Linked DNA regions of Homo sapiens: all the other regions are linked to region 2. Evidence: promoter capture Hi-C in 16 types of primary human blood cells and fetal thymus (Javierre and others, 2016). All regions are on one chromosome and are shown on one strand. Each heading gives the region's core, a stretch centred on a gene start or on the middle of the fragment in contact. The rest is flanking DNA. Distances are from core to core; before and after follow the strand shown. Region 1 holds the start of METAP1D (methionyl aminopeptidase type 1D, mitochondrial). Region 2 holds the start of GORASP2 (golgi reassembly stacking protein 2). Region 3 holds the start of FASTKD1 (FAST kinase domains 1). Region 4 overlaps PDK1-AS1 (PDK1 and ITGA6 antisense RNA 1).

What was found. The method cuts DNA at HindIII sites, captures the fragments that hold promoters and counts their contacts. A CHiCAGO score of 5 or more calls a contact.
Region 1: the fragment with the promoter of METAP1D here is called in contact with the fragment with the promoter of GORASP2 in region 2 in 1 of 17 cell types (total B cells); the score reaches 10.5 in total B cells.
Region 3: the fragment with the promoter of FASTKD1 here is called in contact with the fragment with the promoter of GORASP2 in region 2 in 4 of 17 cell types (naive CD4 T cells, monocytes, fetal thymus and 1 more); the score reaches 8.7 in naive CD4 T cells.
Region 4: a contact is called between a fragment that was not itself captured here and the fragment with the promoter of GORASP2 in region 2, in 1 of 17 cell types (total B cells). The highest score is 5.0, in total B cells.

What each region holds. Positions count from the first base shown.
Region 1 is chr2:171,998,433-172,001,785 of GRCh38, forward strand. METAP1D (methionyl aminopeptidase type 1D, mitochondrial) reads left to right here and starts at 1,521. Exons shown (of 10, transcript NM_199227.3): 1 at 1,521-1,577. The coding sequence starts at 1,538. It overlaps LOC124905590 (a long non-coding RNA gene), which reads right to left and starts at 1,477. Exons shown (of 3, transcript XR_007087296.1): 1 at 1,247-1,477. RefSeq lists a silencer at 1,216-1,515. The HindIII fragment of the contact is 8,153 bases long and covers 1-3,353 here.
Region 2 is chr2:170,927,549-170,930,888 of GRCh38, forward strand. It overlaps GORASP2 (golgi reassembly stacking protein 2), which reads left to right and starts at 1,705. Exons shown (of 10, transcript NM_015530.5): 1 at 1,705-1,855. The coding sequence starts at 1,793. RefSeq lists a silencer at 1,484-2,183. The HindIII fragment of the contact is 11,137 bases long and covers 1-3,340 here.
Region 3 is chr2:169,571,639-169,575,125 of GRCh38, forward strand. FASTKD1 (FAST kinase domains 1) reads right to left here and starts at 2,227. Exons shown (of 15, transcript NM_024622.6): 1 at 2,031-2,227; 2 at 15-533. The coding sequence starts at 391. RefSeq lists enhancers at 1,809-1,978, 1,834-2,436, 2,339-2,438. The HindIII fragment of the contact is 12,279 bases long and covers 159-3,487 here.
Region 4 is chr2:172,550,418-172,553,936 of GRCh38, forward strand. All of the region lies in intron 1 of PDK1-AS1 (PDK1 and ITGA6 antisense RNA 1), which reads right to left. Among named protein-coding and RNA genes, the nearest start is that of PDK1, 3.9 kb to the right of the region's middle. RefSeq lists an enhancer at 2,404-2,698 and a silencer at 2,404-2,698. The HindIII fragment of the contact is 1,167 bases long and covers 909-2,075 here.

The sequences.
Region 1 (3,353 bases), core at 271-2,770, 1.1 Mb after region 2:
CAGTTACACAGAGGACAGATTTGCCACATTCAAAAATGCTCTCCCTGGAATTGAAATGAGTTTGCAAAAGGTAGGAGTACATTTTATTCTCATTCTTGTGCATCTTATTTACCCTGATGGAAAGCATTACTTCTCTTTATCTTTCAAGGTGACCCAAAAGCATCCAAAACCAGGTTTTCCAGAATTATAGCATGTGTCCTCTAATGAAATGCCAACATTCACTCTCTTTAAAAGTAAAAATATCAAGATTATATAGTCATTAAAAAGAATAAGTCTGAACTAAGTGTTCTAAGATTTGATGCCTATGATGACTGGAATGGAAAAAGCAAGTCATATGATTCTATTTAAAATACTTACATTTGCCTGTGTGTAAAAGGCAAAGATCTCAATTGAGCACACGGTGGTTAACTGGGGAGTGGGACTATGGTATGTACAGAGGGCGAGGAAGGGGCTTGCACTTGTTCCTTATTTCTGAATTGTTCTGAATTGTCTAGATTATTCACTGAGTGTGTAGTGCTTAAAAATTAATTAGAAGACATCACACACATTCACTGAGAATCCTAATCAATCTTCACTGCATTTAAAGTCTGGAAACGGTTACATTCTCAGTTTGACTGGTTTCATGCAGTGTTCAATTGCTTCACCTGACATTCCTCGGGTATCGGGTTCTGTGCCGGGCACGGAGGCTACTAAGATGAATAACACCTGGTCCATGACAGGATGGCATCTACCCCAGAACACAGGTAAGAGAGACAGTGAATTTGGTAAAAATGGGCACCGTCATCAGTAGGCATACATCAGCTCCCTCATCTGATTCACAATTGGCCTTCTGTAGGCTTCTTCTCTTGGCAATGCAATTGGCAGGCGTCATCCTTTTATACTTAAACTCCAAATTTAGGATTAAGACTCCAGTTAATACTGCCAAGCAGAAGGCGTCCTTGGAGAAAGAGAAGTCTCCTGAACATACCCACTGGGGTACCTAGAATAGATTTTGCAGCGACACACAGATCCTGTGTTGTCTGGAGTCTCTGCTGAGTAATGTAGATTCTGGGACAGCAAAAGGGGAGCTGGTGACTTTGAACCAAATTTTACCTTTCAACTGAATCCAGGGGAATAATTTGCAACAGAGTGGCAGACGATACAAAGTGCTATGTTGAACACTAGATTGTGCTTTATTTTTTCCGCCCAACTTCACGTTTCCATGCACCAAAATGTTGATGCTATAAATATTGGATGCCACGCTTACCTGACAGGCTTCTTCCATCCCACCTGGGCGCGGGGGCTCAGAGCGAGCGCGCGAGCCGCGGCTGGAGCCCGCCTCTCGCGGCTGGAGAGGACTCAGCCGGCCGCGGGTTCTGCTGCTTGCCCGGGTGCCCTAGCCGCTTCCCAGCCAGGGCTCCCGCAGTCAGCCCCGCGCGCGCACGCGCGCTCCCCTCGGGCGGCCTCGACGCCTCAGGGCTTCGGCAGGGCTGCGACTGGCCGGCTCCAGCGGGCGGGGCGGCGAGCGAGTGCTCGCGGCCACGTGACCGACGCCAACATGGCGGCGCCCAGTGGCGTCCACCTGCTCGTCCGCAGAGGTAAGCGCGTGGAGGAGAGCCCCGTGAGGGTTCGCACGGTTGCTCACTAGGTACGCACCCGGGTCCAAAGGGATGCGCACCCGCGCTCAGACTTCTCGGCGCACACGACTGTACTTTCAGTGTTTACGAACACACGCAGGCACACACGATGACACATTCACACACCACAGGATCACACATACAAATTTGTTCACTGATCACCCGCCTAGAACACGTCACCACGTGGCATCTTTTCGCAATTACTCCTTGAGATTTGCGGGCCATTGTCTGAAGTTTTTTTCCCCAACTTCGGTTGTATCATTAGTGTAACCAACATTTATTCTGTATGCCGAGCAAGGAAACCTATGGTAATTCTGAAATGCATCTGGACACCCGGTTCCCTTCCCTAGAGCTTTTATGCAGGCATGCTTTTTGGGGACTTGCAAAATGTGATGGTTTTCTTCCAGTGACTTAAAGTTAAGAAGATAAGAAAGGATGTCTGGGTAGTTCTAAGTAGGTTTTATCCTGCGTGAGTGTTGAGATTTTAGTAAATATACAAATGCCTTTGCAGCAGAATTGGGGAAATCTTTGTTGGATTTGAACTAGGTGCTGAATCTTTGTTGGAAAGAACTAGAAAGTTTTTCCAAGGACGGGGGAAGAGGAAAACTATCATATTTTGAGGAGCTACTTAAGCGTCAGGCATGTAGGAACAGTTTTGTGAGGTAAATATTATTTTCATAGTAACAGCTACTGTTTATTAAGTGCCTTTTAAGTACACGATACTGTGTTAAGCGCCTTACATATGCTTGCTTCCTTTTAAAACTCAATGAATGAGACCCCGTCTCTACAAAAAATTTTAAAAATTAGTCGGGCGTGGTGACACATGCCTGTAGTCTCAGCTATTCTGGGGGTTGAGGTGGTAGGATCGCTTGAGCCTGGGAGGTCAAGAGGCTGCAGTGAGCCGTGATCGTACCACTGAACTCCAGACTTGGCAATAGAGCCAGACCCTGTCTCAAAAACAAAAACAAAAACCCAGTGAGTTAGGAATTATTTTCTCTTTGCAGAAGGGAAAAGTAAGGCTAGAGAGGTTAAGTAACATTACTAAGGTCGCATAAATGGTAAGAGGCAGATTGCTCATTTGAACATGACTCTAATTTTTTTTTTTAAGACTCATTTCTCGGTACTGCATGACGTGGTCACTCCATAGAAGTCAGTGTGTAAAGTTCAGCAGAGACAGTGCAGGATGAGTGTGTACAAAAAGTGAAGAGAGCCTGGGCACGGTGGCTCACACCTGTAAACCCAGCACTTTGGGAGGCCGAGGCAGGTGGCTCACTTGAGGTCAGAAGTTCAAGACCAGCCTGGCCAACATGGTGAAACCCCGTCTCTACTAATATACACAATTAGCTGGGCGTGGTGGCGCATGCCTGTAATCCCAGCTACTCGGGAGACTGAGGTAGGAAAATTGCTTTAACCCAGGAGGTGGAGGTTGCAGTGAGCTGAGATCATACCACTACACTCTAGCCTGGGCGACAGAGCGAGACTCCGTCTCAGAAAAAAAAAATAAATAAAAATAATAAAAAATAAGAAGTGAAGAGGAAGATATTTTTAGAGAGGAAGAAGGTTGGTAATCGAATAGACTTCAGTATTTCAGTGTTAGTGGAGATGAGAAAGGGGCCACAGGAAGATTTGAGGGGAGAGATGTGTATGGGGAAGGTGATGTAGCGAGCATTTTGGACTGGTTGCATGAAGGAATGGACATCAGCATGAGAGTGTAGCCTTGTGAAAAGACAGCCAATT
Region 2 (3,340 bases), core at 455-2,954:
TAGATCTAGTTCTTCCATTTATTCTCTTGCATTAAATGTATTAATTTGTTGAATTAGCTGCTAGGCATTCTGGTAAATATCAAGAACATAGAGCCAACTCCACTGCAGACCCTGTCCTTGAGGAGCCTAATAACTGGAGATTTCATTTATGGATTTATGGATTTATTAGGCCTCCTAAAAATCTGCTATTCACTTACCGATAGCAAAGAAAATTATTTTTAAATTTTAAATAATATTTTCTTATTACAAAAGCACTTCATGAGCATCATAGAATATGGAACCAGCCAAAACAAAAAATAAAATATCTCTGTCACCACCCAGAGATCACCACTGTAACCCTTGGTTCATATTCTCCTCCCACATCTTCATATGCATACATACATATTAATCTGTATTTTGAGGACATGTTTTTCATTTTGTCTACAGACACATCCCGTCTTGTAACCAGCTTTTAAAAAAGACAATAATTTCCACGTTTCCATGTGAATAACTACTCTTCTAATACTCAGTACATATTCAAATTTCTCCAAATGAACCAAAAATGTCCTTTACGCTTATTTCTCCAAGTTGGCCCCCAACTCAAGCCCTTGCAATGTGTCTCTTGGTTATATTCTTCGGGTTCCTTTTAATCTGGCATAGGCCCTTTCATAGGACTCTGACTCGACAAAGAGAACTGGCCAGCTGTCCTGAAGGAAGGCCCACTTCCTGTATTTGCCTGGTTCCCTGTGGTGTCATTTTACTTGCTCCTCAATTCCCCTTACTTCCTGTAAACATCAAACTCAAGATGCCATAGAGGCAAGTTAACCACCTTGGGCTAGAATACTTCATGGGCGATAGCACGTACTTTACATTGCATCACATAGGAATCCACATAATACCTGGTTGACGCAACATCAGTCCAACTGACCACAAAGCAACTAGGGGTTTCAGAGGGAGTACACGTAAGGGGCAAAAGCAGCAACGGAATACGACAACGGAATAAGCATGAATACGACCTGGCTACCTGAAGGAGGTAGGACGGGGAACCGAGCAGCAGCAGGTGGTGGAATGCCAGGGAAATCCAACCGTGCTTCCCACGCTGGCATCGCTCTGATTATGACCAATCCTCTAATCTTATTCTCACAATTAGGGAGGAAGAAAAAAAAACAAACCCAAACCAAAAAAGAAGTTGGTAGGTGACTCTGTGAGACTACTGTTTTATAAAGGGAGCGTTTCCTTTTATAAAATTTAGCTGAGCAGATGCTAGGCAGCCCACAGGAGGCCACTATTCCCCTCAGCTGTACAGTTTGGGAAAATACCTACACACCCGGAGAACAGAGAGCTTGGTGTGTGTTGAGTTCGCTCCTGTTCATCAGCAGCCCTTTCCCCGCCTCTGGCCACCAGGGGGACCTGCAACCAAGTATGTGTTCTTTCAGGCGAGCGGGAACGCGTCTGCATAAATCTAGTCCAATCCAGGGCCCCGTAGCAAGGCGCCAAAGCTGGGGGAAGCGCATTTCTGTTCTCTCGCGAGCACGACGCGGTGCCTCCCAGTCCTCCTCCGGCCCTCCCTCTCCGCCCTCCCGGCCCGCGAGCGCTCGGGCCCCTTCCAGTGGCTCGCGGCAGGTGGCGCTGTCTGCGGCGTCGCAGCGGCCCGGGCTGCAGCAGAGACGATCTCCCGGCGGGCTGTGCGGCCCGGCTCTCCGGCGGCAGCGAGTGCCACGTCCCAAGTGCTACGCGGAGGATTAGAGCAGGCGGTGCGCTGGGGGCGGGAGCAGCGCGGAGCCCGGCTCGGCCACACCGATCGCCCGCCGCCATGGGCTCCTCGCAAAGCGTCGAGATCCCGGGCGGGGGCACCGAGGGCTACCACGTTCTGCGGGTAAGGGCTCCGACGGCGGCCGGGGAGCTGCGGGCTGGAGGCGGGGCCGGCCGCGGGGAGGCGGAGGCCCCCATGGGCTCCTTCACGGGGCAGCCAGGCCCGATCCCGCGAAGGAGCGGCGGTCGCGGGCGCTGCCTTGGTCGAGGCTGGTTCCGGAGGCCGCTCGCATCCCACCTCCGCGGAGCGCCCTGGGCACGGGGTCCGCGGCTGTAGGAGGACGGGCTGGAGCTGGAGGCGGCTGCCGGCGACTCGGCCAGGGGGCGGCCCTGGGAAGGGGGGACAACCTTGCTCTTTTTCCGCACGGCCTTCTCTCTCCTCCACCCCCCCTCATTTTTAGCTTCCAAAGTTAGGAAGGGCGCGGAGGCAACGTCTCCAAAGTGGTGACTGTGAAGGCAGCCTTTGCGCTTTCCTAGGAGAGGGATCCGGACCCGCAGTCCGGAGGCGGGGCCTGCGGCGGCAGGTGTTAAATCACCTCGGCGCCGGCCGAGTGGCCTGAAAGACCAGCAGGGCAGGAGACGGAAAACCAAATGGCCTGGAAGTAGGTTCGACGGACTTAAACAGACTTGATTTTGACCAGACTTTTCCTTTCCCGTGCCACTCCTGACCCTCCCAAACCTTCTCAAGATTTCCTGGAGTGGGAACTTCCGTTCTGTTCCGATTGCTGAGGGTGTGGTTTAGATTATAAGGTTTAGATCCACAGTGGTAAAGAGGTAGTGCAGAGAAATTTTTTTTAAAAATCGGAGTATATAAAGGAAAACAACCCTAGCTTAACTTCCAGGACGCAGAGAAACATAGTATCTCAAAAGGCGTCAGCTAAGCCCCTACCTATGAACGGCCTGGGCCTGGGTGGTACAAAGCATGTGGTCTTTTCCTCATGGAACCGGGCGACTTTAGAAGTAGCATTGATGGTTGTTTGCTGTGACACCTGTGTGAGTGTTAACATGAACAGTCAACAGAGTGGCCGCAGCGTGTAGCGCCATTTAGGGGTGTAATAGAGTGTCACTCAATATTAGCTCCTCACAGGCAAGAACGTTTTCACTGAAAGTAAGAGAGTGCACTTCCTGGTGCTACCTTCATTTCCTGCCCTGGGTCCCATGTTTTAGGTGAGACACATTCTTAAATTGCCCAGCTGTCTATGTGATAGGGCTGAGACAGATCATCTTTCTGATCTTCCGGATTATCGTGTCTATTGCCTTTCCATTACACTAAAAATCCCTCCTCTGCCATACTCTTAGTAGGAAAGGGTGATTTTTTTTTTCCCCGAAAGGAAAAGGGAGCCTATAAATAAACCGTATTATCTTCCTATCCCCTTCTGCTAACCAAACACCCAAGAGCCACACTGAGAGAGGAAATGGAAGGAGAATTGTCAGTTCCCAAATGTGAGGTGAAAGCTGTGCTTTTCTTTCTATTATCTGGTCTGATTTTGAGTTCTCTACCCTGGGATGTTACCCAGTATTACCAGCTGTTTCTCACAGTGACCGATTG
Region 3 (3,487 bases), core at 977-3,476, 1.4 Mb before region 2:
AGTAAATTACTTACTGTTGTGTGACGTATAACACATTCACCAGGGTATCGTCATTCATTAATTTGAATTTATTTGTAGCTAAATTATGAAGAGTAAGAAATTGAGGATGGTCTCTGACATACTCAGCATTTTTTAACAGGCTGGTCTTCTGCTTTTGAAGCTTCCAAAGCATATCAAATGCACATCCCACTTGCTTTTCTGAAAGTATGGCTTTGTTTCTTTCAATAAAACCAAACATTTGCTCCTCATCTGTACACTTATTCATCTGAATAATTAGTGGTTCACAACTGATGGGTCGAAATTGAAACACTCTCCAGGAGAATGGACAAATAGCTCTTAGACGAAGCATATTTGTAACCAATGACTCTAGGAAAACAGGTGTTTTTTTCATTTATATCACAAGTTTTCTTAGGTAAACAAAACCATCTGCAACTAGTCGTCAGGTGCAATAAGCAGGGATACAAATAACAGTTTTTCCTTCATGTATTTTGCTTCCATTACAATGACTGTAAACGCATTCCAATGTACAGCTTCTATAAAAGAATTGGTTTAACATGGTTATGCTTACATCATTAATATCAAAATGATTCCAAAATTCAAATTAAAGTAATACATTTTTTCTGCATTAACTAAAGACTTTTTCTTAGTCTAAACCAGATAGCAGAATTTGATCAAAAAATAAATGTCCAGAAAAAGGGGCTTCTTTCTGCACCCCATTTTAAAAGTGTTTTAAATCTGACATTTACATAAAGTTTTCAAATTTACCATAAAAGGAAAAAAAAAGCCCACAAACTCAGAGCTGTCTTTTCGAAAAAGAGGAAAATTGTTTAAAATAAATAATCACCTTCAAAGTTTCTAAAAAGTGTAGGCATTAATTCAGAGCCATATATATTTATACATACATATATATATACTTTTTTTTTTTAATTTTTCAGAAGTATGGTCTCAGGTTTATTTGCTTTCAGGATAATTTCTTGCCCCTTTTTCTTGTGCCCTTAAAGAGCTCAAATAATTCCTTTCTTTAGAAAATAAATAAATAAAAGAAGTCATATAATTTAATCATTACTGGCCTTGGATAGGTTTTAACCAATGAACGACACAATTAAAGCACCAATCAAGAAATACTAAGAAATTAAGTAATGTTTCAAGTCATGCTGAAACAATAAAAGAACTAAAGATAATTATGAAAAAAGAATAATTTGTTTTAAAAATATGCTATAAATGTTTACATTTATAATTGAGAAGTAATGGTTAGAAAAGCAGGGACTAAAGTCATATAATCTAATATTTCTGCAACATGTTACCATTTACAAAGAACGTTTGAAACACATTATCTCATTAAATTCTCTCAGCTAACCTTCCAGGTTGATATTATTTCCATTTTACAGATAAGGCAAAATAGGTTCAAAAAGGTTTAAAAAATCCTTCTAGTACTAGTGAAGCAGGGACTACAACTCAGTTCTTTCCACTTGAACAGCTTCATTACACAAACAAATCAACGCTGTATCACTAAATTCATGTCTCAGACCCCTCTCTACGGCTATGCCAAACAGTCTGTTCACAAGAAAAAACGACGCGACAGTACAGGCTATTTTGTGGCAAGCAGTACAGCATCCTGACCTAAGCTGACCTGGGTCACAAACCTGCACAAGAAAACCCTGCACAAATCAAAGGTATCCTCAAGATACTATATTCATCCACTGAGCTGCTCAAAGTGGAGGCAGCTCAATGGTTAGCATAGAAAGGTGTCGAGTCCCCAGCTTTGCCCCAGCTGAATGACCTTAAGGAAGGAACTTAACTACAGGAAGGGCCTTGGGACCCTAAGGGGTATCTTCTGCGCCGGGCATAAAGGAGAGCTAAACAAATGAGTGAATGAATGGGGTCTCAGCCCTGCCCTAGTCCATCCGCACTTCAGAGAACCCAATATCCCGAAGGAAGCCTCCGTATCTCAACTGAACCCTATGTCCCCAGCCCGAAAACGTGCTGGGTGGGAAAAGAAAAATAGCCGCTGCCACACAGTCCCGACTTGCCAGCAAGGTTTTCCCTCAGCGCGCCGCAAATTTTCTGGAGGATCCTGGGGTTATGAAAGCTCAGAAGTCAGGGTTATTCCTGGTCCCAACACGGAACGAAACAGGCTCGGATGTCTCGCCCAACCCTCATATCTCAGGGTTTATAACCTTTCTTCGAGAGACATGACCTTTCCCATGAGACCTTGCCCCCAAACCAGGAAAAAATGCCCGGCAGGCGCAGCGTGCACTGCGGAAGTCACGCACTACATATCCCAGGGTGGGTCGCGGCGAGGTGGGTGAAATGGACGTCGCTCACGCATTTTGGGGGAATTCTGGGCATTGTAGTTCCTCATTGAGGGAGGCTCTAGCGCAGTACACAGCTTAAGCTGTTGAAGAAGATATAGGTCGTTTAGGTGATTCTCTACTATCTAAGGTTGTTCTCCTAGTCCTTGGAAGTCTACTACTTTTATAATATACACAAAAATATACTTAGGAAAATGAAATTTAAAAATGTAAACATGGAAAAGACACGTACAGATTTTTCTTATTATTTTTTAGCATATACGAAATAACTCTGTCGAGTAACTTTGAAAGTATGCAAACTCATACTCTCAGTTTCTGCACTTATGTCGTGGATAGGTACCAGTTCTCAGACCATATTTTTTTTTTACTTACCATGGTATTTTAATAGTCCCAAGATTTGACACTTGACACTTAAAAAAAAAATACCACTAATAAATAACCAAAGTGGAATGCTTACCAAAGTTACAACAGACATAATTTTCAGCTGATAATCACTACAACAAAGTAAGGCTCTAAAGGTACCAAACTGATATTTGTTGGAATATGCTGTGCAACTTTCTTTTTTTTATTTTATTTATTTATTTTTTTTATTGATCATTCTTGGGTGTTTCTCGCAGAGGGGGATTTGGCAGGGTCGTAGGACAATAGTGGAGGGAAGGTCAGCAGATAAACAAGTGAACAAAGGTCTCTGGTTTTCCTAGGCAGAGGACCCTGCGGCCTTCTGCAGTGTTTGTGTCCCTGAGTACTTGAGATTAGGGAGTGGTGATGACTCTTAAGGAGCATGCTGCCTTCAACCATCTGTTTAACAAAGCACATCTTGCACCGCCCTTAATCCATTTAACCCTGAGTGGACACAGCACATGTTTCAGAGAGCACAGGGTTGGGGGTAAGGTCATAGATCAACAGGATAAGAATTTTTCTTAGTACAGAACAAAATGAAAAGTCTCCCATGTCTACTTCTTTCTACACAGACACAGCAACTTTCCGATTTCTCAATCTTTTCCCCACCTTTCCCCCTTTTCTATTCCATAAAACCGCCATTGTCATCATGGCCCGTTCTCAATGAGCTGTTGGGTACACCTCCCAGACGGGGTGGTGGCCGGGCAGAGGGGCTCCTCACTTCCCAGTAGGGGTGGCCGGGCAGAGGCGCCCCTCACCTCCCGGACAGGGCGGCT
Region 4 (3,519 bases), core at 242-2,741, 1.6 Mb after region 2:
ATGACAGATAGCAGGTCCTGAAATAAACTGAAGTGTTTTACTACAAAACATATTTTTTTGACATATTTTGAACTAGCCCTGCAAAGCTATTTCTTCTGGGGAAAATCTATATTCTGTAGAGGATCCCCTTCCCTTTCCAGGTTTTTCCTTTTAAGGTCTGACACCTTTTTAGGTCTGATAAGAGACATTTACTATCTGTTCTCTCTGAAGCCTGCTATGTGGGACCTTTATCTGTGTAATAAGAATCTTGGTCTCCACAACCCCTTGTCTTAATCCAGACACTCCTTTCAATTGATCCTAGGTCTTGAGATAGTAACTTAACTCTTTCAACCAATTGCCAGTCAGAAAATCTTTGACTCTCCCTATAACCTGGAAGCCCCCTCCTGCCACAAGTTTCCCAATCCCCCTATATTACGTCTTAAAGTTGTCCTGCCTTTTCAGACCAAAGCAGTGTACGCTTTACATGTACTGAGTGATGTCTGCCTGCAACTTCTGTTCCCCTAAAACTGTACACAATCAAGCTATGACCCGACCACCTTGGGCACATGTTTTCAGGACCTCTTGGGACTGTGCCTCAGGCCTTGGTCACTCACATTTGGCTCGGAATAAATCTCTTAAAATATTTTACAGAGTTTGAGTCTTTTTTTTAAATCAACAGTTCAAATAAATTTTTAAAACTTTTAATGTGCCCAAATTTATCTTTTAACATTACCAGTCTCAGTTTGTGAAAGTCTAGAGTTCTCCCTGTCCATGTCTGTAAATTCTTGAGGCTCATAGTCTCATTTATAGTACCCCCCACCCCACCACCACTCAGACTCTTTGTGTGCAAAGTCTATCTCCATTGCCACAAACTCTCATAAAAAAAATTCATCCTTTCCTCCAATTTTCACAAAAGCACAACACATAAAAGCTTCAGTATCCAATAATCTCTCTTTTTTTGCAAACTTTACTGAAGGTTTGGGTTATAAGGAGTGCTCACATTGTGAACAGTCTTTGCAATCTTCTGCCTCCTCCCCTTCCCCTTTGCTCTACAAAGTGAATTCCTCTCCTTGCTTCCTGTAAAGCTGTTCTGAGCCTTCCCTACAGATCTCTCCTTCCACTCCATCAGCATTTCAAAGCACTTACTCCAGATAAAAACTATGTTTGTGCTAAATAAATCCTGGTGAATAGGATGCCCTCATATCACTACACAAGTAATTACCTGAATCAAAGTACCCTTTAAAGAAAGAAGGCAAATGTATATGGAGAAAAATTATGCTTCAGTGGAATATTACGTATTGTTTAGAGCACAACTTTTCAGGGTATCTGATTCCAATTCACTGTCTTTGAGCTATTTTACAACTCTGTAAATTGCAGATAAATGGTAACAACGCACATAATTCTTACCTATACATGTGCAAATAAATTCTGTCAGGTAGAAGGGCAACCCTCCCTGATTCCCAAGGAAAGAGCCAGTTTTACAGCCTTTGCAAATTTTTCTGAATTCCTGTTTTTTCACTTCTCCTTTGAACTGGCTATAATATCTTTACTGGTTCCCTCATTTAATTAATGTATTAAATAAAATTTTTGACACATGTTCATTTTATAGCTGCATGAGAGTCATTATTTTACCTTTTTTGAAAATTATCTTTCCAGCATATCAAAAAGGGTTCTAGGGCAGGAAATGATAGCACACTCAAAAGGGAAATTGATTAATTAATTAATGAAGGGACTATTTACAGGAGTGTGGGCAGAATTAAACCTCCAGGGCTGGTGAGCACCCAATCAGCAACAGAGAAAAATTAGTACTATCTCTATGGATACTGGACAAGGGTAGGAAGCTATGGCCACACTTAGAGGAACACAAATTATAGCTTGGAAGAAAAGAAGCAGGGGGAAAAAATATGACTTTTCTTTCCTTTTGTCTTCTGAACCTCATGAAGCCAGAGGGTACTGGGGACAAGGTGACACAGTCTAGCTTGTTTTGTATTGCTTTTTCCATTCCTTTCAGTCACATCAGTCCAACATGGATCACAAATTCTCAGTGAATTTACAGGGGCTGGCTCATGTCTGCTATGTAAAAATTTTTTTATAGAAGCTTACAGTATGATTACACTTTATATCTACATGTGTGTCTTAGTCTGTTAGTGGTGCTGTAACAAAATACAGTCTGGATAATTTATAAATGACAGAAATTAGTTTTCTTACAGTTCTAGAGGCTGTGAAGTTCAAGATCAAGATGCCGGAACTCAGTGTCTCATAAGGGCTTTCTTGCTGTGTCCTCATGTAACCATCCAATAGGTTTTTCTTGCCTGCTGACCAGATAGAGCCAATTTATCAAGACAAAGAGTTTAGTGCATGTGGAGCTGGCTAAACAGAAGATGAGTTTTATTACTACTCAAATTAACCTCCTGAAAATTCAGAGGCTAGGGTTTTTTTATAGTTTGGCAGACAGCAGGCTATAGAATGGGGAATGCTGATTGGTTGGGTCAGGAATAAAATTATAGGGAGTCGAAGCTGTCATCTTATGCTGAGTCAGTTTCTGGAGGGGGCCACAAGACCAGATGAGTCATTTTACTTATCTGTGTGGTTCCAGCTGGTCCACTGGAATTCAGGATTTGAAAAATAACTCAAACACCAATGTTAGGTTTTATAATAGCAATGTTATCTATAGGAGCAATTGTGGAGGTTGGTGATCTTGTGGACTCTGGCTGCATGACTCCTGAGCTATAATTTCTAATCTTCTAGTTAATTTGTTAGTTTACTTATTTTTTGAGACAAGGTCTCGCTCTGTCACACAGGCAGAAATGCAGTGGCAGGATCTTGGCTCACTGCAAACTACACCTCCTGGGCTCAAGTGATGCTCCCCACGAAGCACTACAGGCAAGTGCCACCATGCCCAGCTAATTTTGTTCATTTTTTGTAGAGACAAGGTCTATGTTGCCCAGGCTGGTCTCGAACTCCTGGACTTACACAATCCTCCCATTTTGGCCTCCCAAAGTGCTGGGATTACAGGCATGAGCCATTGTGCCCTGCCTAATCTGTTAGTTTAACAAAGGTGGTCTGGTCCCCAGGAAAGCTGGGGATTTGTTTCATGGAAGAGCTCTTATCATCTTTGTTTCAAAGTTTGTAATCTAAATTCCTCCCAAAGTTAGTTTGGCCTATGCCCAGGAATAAACAAGGGCAGCTTGGAAGTGAGAAGCAAGATGGAGTTGGTTAGGTCAGATCTCTTTCACTGTCAAAATTTTCTCACTGTTATAATTTTTCAAAGGCAGTTTCACTCACATGGTAGAAGAGATGGTAGGAACTGACTCACCCCCTCACGCCCTTTTATAAGGCTCTGCCCTCATGACTTAATTCTCTCCTAAAGGCTCCACCTCTTAATACTATCACATTGATAATTAAGTTTCAACATAGAAATTTTAGGGGACACATTCAGACCATAACAACAGAGAAGTAATACAGCTGTTTACTAAAGTCCTCAAAGGTTCTCTCCAGTTTCTGGACTCTAAGTCTTTGACTAAGAAGCAAAAGTTGACA